2 separate regions of the Homo sapiens genome follow, and region 2 is linked to region 1. The links are contacts of gene promoters, found by promoter capture Hi-C in blood cells and fetal thymus (Javierre and others, 2016). All regions are on one chromosome and are shown on one strand. Each heading gives the region's core, a stretch centred on a gene start or on the middle of the fragment in contact. The rest is flanking DNA. Distances are from core to core; before and after follow the strand shown.

Evidence for each region. Contacts are between HindIII fragments. The CHiCAGO score rates a contact against its expected background, and 5 or more counts as called.
Region 2: the fragment with the promoter of ZNF678 here is called in contact with the fragment with the promoter of WNT9A in region 1 in 6 of 17 cell types (total CD4 T cells, megakaryocytes, endothelial precursors and 3 more); the score reaches 10.1 in total CD4 T cells.

What each region holds. Positions count from the first base shown.
Region 1 is chr1:227,945,320-227,949,638 of GRCh38, forward strand. It overlaps WNT9A (Wnt family member 9A), which reads right to left and starts at 2,613. Exons shown (of 4, transcript NM_003395.4): 1 at 2,474-2,613. The coding sequence starts at 2,568. LOC124904533 (a long non-coding RNA gene) reads left to right here and starts at 539. Exons shown (of 2, transcript XR_007066912.1): 1 at 539-1,108; 2 at 1,383-1,984. RefSeq lists silencers at 1,435-1,544, 2,648-2,727 and an enhancer at 2,518-2,567. The HindIII fragment of the contact is 8,120 bases long and covers 1-3,124 here.
Region 2 is chr1:227,561,543-227,565,861 of GRCh38, forward strand. ZNF678 (zinc finger protein 678) reads left to right here and starts at 2,014. Exons shown (of 4, transcript NM_001367909.1): 1 at 2,014-2,182. RefSeq lists an enhancer at 1,970-2,249. The HindIII fragment of the contact is 3,691 bases long and covers 1-2,545 here.

The sequences.
Region 1 (4,319 bases), core at 1,363-3,862:
CATGGGAGAACCAGATGGAGATGCCACCTGCTAGCCAGGCCAAGGTGCAGGGCCAGGCCAAGGGGAGCCTCTTCCCCACAGGGGGTCCAGCCTGGTGGCCAGAGGCCTCTAGGAGGGCAGCGGGCGCCAGCCAGGGTTGGGTTGCAGCTCAGGGAGCAGGCAGGGAGGGCTCCCGTGGGTCCACGTGACCCTCCCCCAGGCCAGCCTCTCCTCTCCGGGTTCCTGGGCTGTAACTGGAGCCGTGTTCCTGCCTGGGAGACTCCGTGCCAGGCAGAGCTTTTGAGAGGGGGAAGGGAGAAAACGGCCCTAGATCCCAGCCCCTTCTCCCTGCTTCCTGGACTGGAGCTGGGAAGGGCCACCCCAGCCCCCCTCCAGCTCCAGCCCCGCCTGGCCTTTAATGCCCTGGGCCACCCCCTGCCTTTGCTGGGCCAGGAGCCACAGCAGGAGAGGCCTCCGCACAACCCAGCCTGGAGCCCTTTGTGCCCTGCTTCCCCTCCCCAGCCCAACCTTGGGAACTGACTTACAGGGGGCCCAAGGCCTCCAGCAGCCCAGATGGAACCTGGCCTGCCCTGACCCAGGATGCCCCCCCAGCCCCTGGTTCAGGAAGGTGCTCATTCTCCATCAGTCAAACAGAGTCCTAGCTGCCCTCTGCAATGCCAGCTGTCCCCAAAGGCAGCACACTTGCCCTCTGGACTTCCCACAGGGCAGCTACATGGAGAGCTGCCCTCAGACAGGACTCAGGAATTCTCCCTTGATGGGTCCTTTGGAGCCAAGAAGCAGGGCCAAGGGGGCCTGGCCAGAGAAGCCACAACAGCACTTAAGTCCTTGCTATGCGCCTGGCACCAGCCTGGACTTACTGTCTGCAAGAGAGCTGAAACACACGCACACAAAGCAGCAGAGCCCCTTGACCTTCTCTAGGGCACAAAGCCCAGAGATAGGTCAGAGAAGGAGAGGCCAAGACCCAGCGCCACCCCGTCTCCAGGAATCGGATCACAGCAGGGACAAAGCCGCTGCAGCCTGGACAAGCCCAGGGTGTGTCCCCAGCCCAAGAAGCAGAGCCTCCGCTGGGCCGGAGAGCAGGGAAGCACAGCTGGCTGACAAGGCCACGGTGAGTCACCGCGGACCTGTGGCCCTCCCTCCTGCCCTCCCGGGTGAGGCTACGGGTTGCACAGATGGCGTGCAGTGGCGTGCCAGCCCAGGCCCAGGGCCGTACCCACAGTTGGAGCCAGGAGAGGGCTGCGGGTGGGGGCCCCAGGGAACTGAGACACCGGGCTGACCCTGGAAGACGACCCAGAAGAAAGGAACAGAGAGAAGAAAGGGAGAGAAAGAAAAACACAAAGGGAAAGTTTCCCATGAAAATATTTTATTTTCTTTGAGAACAGGATACACCTGCAGGGCTCCTCGGCCCAGGCGGCCTCTCCCTGCCCGGGCGGGTGCCAGATTCCTGGACCAACGGGGCCCTCTGCCGGCCAGCCCGCCGCGCGCTGGCGCTCAGGCCAGAGGGCCGGGAACAGGTGACCGGCGGAGGGCGGCGGCCCGGCTGAGGGAGCGGCCCAGGGCGTCCAGGTCGGGGGCTGGGATCCGAAGGCCAGCCAGGGCTCCCAGCGGCGGCGCTCGGGGTAGGAGGCTGGAGGGTGGCGGGGAGGCCCGGGGCGCTGCCTCGCACGGCGCCACCCTGCACCTCAGCGCGCCCAAAGCGCAGCGAGGGTCCCTGTAAAGGTCGCAGGACTGGGCATCCCAGACCTCAGAGAGGGGGAGGGAAGAAGGAAGGGAAAGAAAGGAAGAGAGAGACGCGCCGACAGCCCGGCAAAGCGCTGCTGCAGAGACACGTGAGCACGGGCAATGACACCGCGGGACGCCCCGGCCGGGCCCTGCGCTCCCGGCCAGGTTCCATGGACGCGCTCCCGCGGGCCGGGGCCCGGGCCACAGAGTCAGAAGCAAAGCGCAAGAAAAATAAATTCCTCCAGCTTGGAGGATTTCTCTCTTTCTCTCTCTCTCTCCGTTTGGGGCTCAGCGCGAGGAACATCTGGATTTTGTACGTATTTTTGTTATTGTTAAATTAACTTCTCGAGAAGAGAAAGGGGGGGAAGCTGCTAGGTGGGCGATGGCCAGGGGCTGAGGACTCAGGCTCCAGCCTTTTGGCAAGGACACGGCGGCCCAAGGAAGTCGGGACCTGATCCCAGTCCCTAAGCGCGAGGCAGTCCTGCTCACGGCGGCGACTACGACGACGACGACTCTGCGGTCACGGAGGACCGCGGCCCGGCGCAAGCCGGACGGGTCCACCCGCCTCTCTAGCCGTGCCGCGCAGCGGACGGAGCGACGCGCGCGCCGCAAACAAACAGCGCCAGGCAACCCGGCGGCCCCGCCGCGCCCCGGCCCCAGCCACCCCGGGTGCCTCGGGGACTCCGGACGACCCCGCCCCGGCCCCGCCGCCCCCGCCCACCAGTGCGCGCCGGCCGCCGAAGGCACCTACCCGAAGTAGGCGGCCGAAGGGCGCAGCGCGGCGAGCAGCAGCGTCAGCCCGAAGGCCGCGGCCAGCCAGCGCGCCAGCGGGGACCCATCCAGCATCTTGCCGCGCCTCGGCGGCCGACCATCGCGCTCCCAGCTCCGCGCAGGGCGCGCCGCGGCCGCCGCCCTCTTATAGCGCCCGGAGCGCGGCCAGCTGGGCCCGGCCCCGCCCCGCGCCCGGGAGGGGATCACGCCGGCGCCGGGGGCGGGCCGAAACCCGAGCCGCGCGCGCCAGCCCGCCAGCCCCTCCCGGCCACTCGGGGCCCCGGCCGCCGCTCCCGGCGCGGGTCTCGGGCGCGCCCTGCCCGGCGGGGATGGAGGAAGGGGAGGCGGAGAGCGGTGGGAACCGAGGGCGGGGCGTGCGAGAACCCGGGGCGACCACGGCGGGACGGCATTGGGGGGCCGGAGGCGGGCATCGGGAAGCGGGTAGAGCGTTGGGGGCGCTGCAGTGGGAGCTTGGGGCGGCCCCCGGGGCGGGATTGAGGGGGAGGGGAGGGGAGGCGTTGGCCGCCGGGCTAGCCGCCGGCGGGGCTCCAGGCCGGGACGGTCGGGGATGGTTCCACAGAGGACCCAGCCGTCTGCCCCGAGCTGGGCGCTGCGCGGCTGCTCCGGGGGAAGCTTGGTGAGGAGGAGTCGGGCCAGCCGGTGATGCCTGCGCCTCTTGCGCATGCTGACCCCCTCAAGGAGCGGGGCCAGAGAATCGCTCCTTTCTGGCAGGGACTGTGGCCGCTTTCGGCCTGGGAATGAAGCGACGTAGCCTGCTGGGGCTGTGAGGTGAGTAGCTCTACCTTTTGGGGTCCTGATGGTCTCCCCATTCTTAAATTGTGGGAGTGGAGCTAGCGGCTAAGTCAATGAAACACCAGCCATCGGGCAACGCCCTTCTCAGAGCCTGTGTCCTGGCCGGGACGGGGAGAAAGAGGACTCCTGGGATGGAAGGTGCACACCCAGGCAGCTGGAAGCGCTCAGTCACAGCCCGGGGACTCGTCCCCTCTGCGATACGGATTCGGAGCTGCTTCTGAAGCAGAATGGTGTCAGAGGACCCAGAGCTGGCATTAGGATACAGGTGCACACATTCCAGACAGACCTGGGGGTGGCATCCAGGAGAAGGCTTATAAGTTCCCTGGATGGGGCCTCTGTGCCATGCAACAAGGGACACAAGAACAGGGCTTGGGGTCCAGGCTGGCGGTGGCATGCCTGCCACCTGCAGACCCTGGTCAGTGCAGGATGGTGCCTCCAACACGGGCTAGGCTGCCAAGGCTGAGGACACAGGGCCAGCGAGCCTGCCCAGCCACGTGCTGCAGGGGCCTCAGAGACCTGGGCTGCGGTGCCAGGTCTCTAGGCAGTGCCCTCTGTGCCTGCAGGGACTGATTCTGGCACAGTGACCGCAGAACCTGGGGGGCGGAGCACATGCCCCCGGAAGGCTGTGAAATCCCGCCAGTGGCAGTGACAGAGGCGAATATGAGGGTCCTCAGAGGAAAAACAAAGAAGATAGGAGCAGCAGAAAATGGCCCCCACGAGGATCTGAGCCAACCTCGCCACCCCTAGGGCTCCCGGCCCTGCTTCCCTGGGAAAGCCTGGCCATGTGGGTCACCCCTGTGAGCATACCCTTTCTGAGTGTCTGATGGCCAGTTTGCCAGGTGAGCTTCAGGTGCATGTGGGGCAAAGCAAGGGTGGGGAAGGGAGGAGACCGGGCCTGAGCAGTCACTCCCTCTCGGGGCCTCGGTTTCCCCATCTGAGACCCATCCAACTCCAGCGAGTGGTGGCTTTTCTCCAAGGCATGATGTCCTGTGTGGGAGCCCTGGCCCCTGGTT
Region 2 (4,319 bases), core at 764-3,263, 380 kb before region 1:
ACCTCGAAGGCTCAGGGGCGGGTTCCCTGCCGTCCAGGGTGTCTTCCCTCTCCCGGGACGCCCAGGGAATTTAATTCACTCATCCAGCGCCGCTGGCACTGTCCAAGCCGGGGGAAGGGGCGGGCAGGGGAAGCGGGCCCCACAAGACACCAGCCAAGACCTCCGCTCCAGAACGCATGGGCTACTTTCCCCAGGGGAAGGACATTGCCTTCTCCAGCCACCAGGAAAACCGTCCCTGTGCACTCGGAATCCCATTGCCACCAACTTCGTATAAACTCCATTCCGGAGGACACGAGACAGACCCAGGCCTCTGCCCCGTGGGCATGCTCGGTGCCACAGCTCTCGCTAGAGGGACGGTTGCACTCTACAAATCTCGGGGCCCACCGCACCAAGAGGACAGGGAGGAGCCAACAAAGGAAAAGTCCTATGAAACGCACCACCAAAGCAACCAATCCAACAAAAAATACGTCTCAGGGCTCTGTTGGGTCACTCCGTTAGCCCTTCCACCCTGTTCTGGCCCAGCCCAAGCACCCTCCACCCTACCCTGTCCTGCTCAAAGGGGCCCTGTCTACCGGAGCAGAACACTCCCTCTCCAAGGCTCTATGGCTCTGTAAGTCCCTCATCCTCTCTCTTCTTCTTCCCCCTCCACCTCGTGCTCTTTCTGTAGCCTTCTCTCTCTCTCTCTCTCTCTCAATCCTGACTCACTCTGCCTCTCTATCACTGTCTTTCTCTCCCTCCGTTTCTATGTCTCCATCCCTCTCTCTTGCTCTCCTTCAAGCTGCCTGTGTCTGTGTCTTTGTCTGTGTGTCTGTGTGTGGGTGTATGTTTGCAGGAGGGGCAGCGAGGTGTGTCTGGGTGCGTCTCAGCCCCTCTCTCCCGGGATCCAGGGTGTGTGTGTTGGGGGGAAGCTGTGGAAAGGGTGTTGAAGGAAAGTGACAATCAGCTTCCTGAAGGGCACTGACAGGCCATTATTCCTGTGGCTTGGCAAATTTTCTGTTTGAACTTATTTCTTGTTAAGGGTCCAAGTGTACTGACTATGGAGATAAGAAAAGAATAGCTCTAAGTAGCTGAAGCTCTGTGAGGTACGGAAGATTTTTCTGGCCCAGAGAGACTTGAGTATGGGATTTGAGACACATCTCCACACCCTTTCCCAGGGGCAATTGTTTAAAGGTATGTTGTTCCTAACTAGCTGTCTCATCTGGAATTTGTGATACAAAGAACAATGTATAGCCAGTCAGTGACTTCTGGATTTTAATGTAAATTTTTGATGAAAATTTTAGGAACTGCCTCTTTTCTTAAAACCCACTTGTAATGGTTACTAGTTGGAATGTATAATCAGGGCAACTTTAGTCTATGCTCTCAGGTAGGTATCCTAAACATATGCTTTTGAATATACTTTTGAAAATAGATTCTGACTTTTTTATTATGATGGGTTGACAGGGGACTGGCCTGGGACACCTGCCTGGGTGTAAATACCCCAACCATGCGCTGCCCTGCCCAGCAGAAGAGGCGGGTGGACAGCAGGCCCCCTTTGGTCAGAAACACATGCATTGCATAGCTGTTCTGGACCTGGGTCCTGCTTGCAAGGACAGTTCCACAGGCGCACCGGAATGCGCCTCCCCTTTCCACCCGCCAGCATTCCCAAGCACGCCTCGGCTTCTGACTGTTCTGTGCTTTGGGAGGAAAACTCATCTTCAGGTTTTTCTCCAACAGAAGATGATGATGACGTTGTTTAGACACTCAGGAACAGAGATTGCAGATTGGCTTAAGAGTGCGCCCTTTATTAAAGATGGTATGCATGGAAAGACATGGAACAATTTTGGAAGGATACAAAAAAAATTGCCCATTTTGTTAATAGTCTCATTCAACCCCTTTGCTGACCTCATCTCCTGTCACTCATAACCAAAGGAGGCGGGTCCTGGAGCCCTGTCCAATCAGGGACATTGACGTGGGAACTGTCCAATCAGGAGCGCAGCTTGAGAGGCGGAGGGGGTTTCCGGGATCTGGCGGGGCCTTTGTCTTGTGCTCCAGCTGGAGCTTTGGTCCCGTATTCTCGGCTATTTATCCCCAGCTGCGGGAGGCCCTGGTGACTCTGCTGCTGCAGTGTCTGGTTTCCCTGTGACCTGCAGGTACTGGGAGTTACATAGCTAAGATGCCAGGACACCCCGAAAGCCGGAAAACGGTGAGAGTTCCCGGGAGGGTGTTCCAAGATGGCGGTCCGGCCTCCCGGCGTCAGCACTAGAGTCCGCGGCCCGGAGTCCCGGCTGGCACCTGTGGGATCTGTCACCTCTGGGTAGGGGCGGGGCCAGGCCGCCGCGGGATTCTCCTCCCATCACTGCGCCGCGGCTTCCGCCCCGGCCTCTCTGGGCGGCTATGAAGCCGCAGCCCCGCGGGTCCCCCAGACTGTGTGCTTTGTCCAGAGGGGAGGGTCATCGGGGAGAAGCCAAATCGGTGTGCGAAACATGCGTGGGAAGAGCTGTTCCATGGGGCTTATCTTAGCTGTGCAGTCCATCCTTTTTCCTGTGAAAAATGGAGTCACTTTTAAAGCTTTGAAGAGTTTGAGGAAAGGGAGTTTCATGAATGGGAGAGCGCCCAGCTATGGTGTGTGGCTTGTGGGTTTATGGAGGAGGTGCTTGAAGGAAAAACTTTTTTGTAAGGTGCATGAGGAAGCAAGCCAAATTTAATAATTGACGACAGTTACAGTCACCTTATTTGGACTGTCCAGGTGGAAATTTCCTGGTTATTTAATTACTGATTAATTGGAGTTTTGTGATTGGTTGAACTTGGATTTTGTTTCTACTTAAGGCAGTCATTAACAAGAAATGCATTTGAGCTATTAATATTCTTTTTCATGTAGAAACGCAAGACACTAGAGCCACCTCAGTCTAATTGCCTGCTAATTATTTTAACACTGCACAAGAGACTGCTTTTCCCCTGCATTTTCCAAATAACATGGAAAGCAGGGTCTTAAATCCACTCCTCTGTTCTCCCAGCCTGACTCTGGCCTGCAATAAAATACTAAATTTTCAGTTTCTTTCCAAAATTCATAAAAACCACCATCACCTCTTCAGTTCACAACACTGTCAGCTATTTGTCTTTTATTGCGTACTCCAGGCACAATATTTTAATTAATCATTTTTTCACAGAACATTGGAGGGCACTCTTTGTTGTTGCTGTTGTTGTTTTGTTTGTTTTTGTTTTTTCTTTAAGAAGGAGTCTCGCTCTGTAGCCCAGGCTGTAGTGCAGTGGCGCGATCTTGGCTCACTGCAACCTCTGCCTCCCGGGTTCAAGCGATTCTCCTGCCTCAGCCTCCTGAGTAGCTGGGATTACAGACCCGCGCCACCACCCCCGGCTAATTTTTGTATTTTTAGTATTTTGTATTTTAGTTTCACCATGTTGGTCAGGCTGGTCTCCAACTCCTGACCTCGTGATCCCCCGCCTTGGCCTCCCAAAGTGCTGGGATTACAGGCGTGAGCCACCACGCCTGGCCTGTTGTTTTTTCCCTACCCGGCTTTTTTTTTTTTTTTTTTTTTTTTTTGGTTGAGTTGGAGTCTCGCTCTGTTGCCAGGCTGGAGTGCAGTGGCGTGATCTCGGCTCACTGCAGCCTCCGCCTCCTGGGTTCAAGCGATTCTCCTGCCTCAGCATCCCAAGTAGCTGGGACTACAGGCGTGCGCCACTACACCTGGCTAATTTTTGTATTTATAGTAGAGACGGGGTTTCACCATGTTGGCCAGGATTGTCTTGATCTCTTGACCTCGTGATCTACCCGCCTCTCCCTCCCAAAGCGTTGGGATTACAGGGGCGAGCCACCACGCCTGACTTGTTGTTTTTAAGAGGATCTTGCTCTGTCATCCAGGCTGCTGGAATGCAGTGACATTGTCATAGCTCACTGAAGCCTCCAACTCCTGGACTCAAGTGATTTTTCTGCCTCAGCCTCCTGAGTGGCTAGGCTTAAATGTGTGTGCTGCCATGCCCAGCTAATTCTTTTTATTTTATTTTTTTGTAGAGATTGGGTTTCGCTAGTTACCCATGTTTGTGGAACTCTTTAAAGATTTGTTATCTGTTTGTGAAGGCAGAGAATAACCTCTTGGCACTCTATTGTAAAGAAATATTTGTGCCACTCTGCTTTTTATCTTTCCTAGGCACAGACGCCTTGTACAAAATCTTTGAAAACTTTGGAAACTTTACAGCTGGTTGTATCCTCAGCCACTCTTTTTTATTTTTATTTATTTTTTGAGACGGAGTCTCGCTCTGTCGCCCAGGCTGGAGCGCAGTGGCCTGATCTTGGCTCACTGCAAGCTCCGCCTCCCGTGTTCACG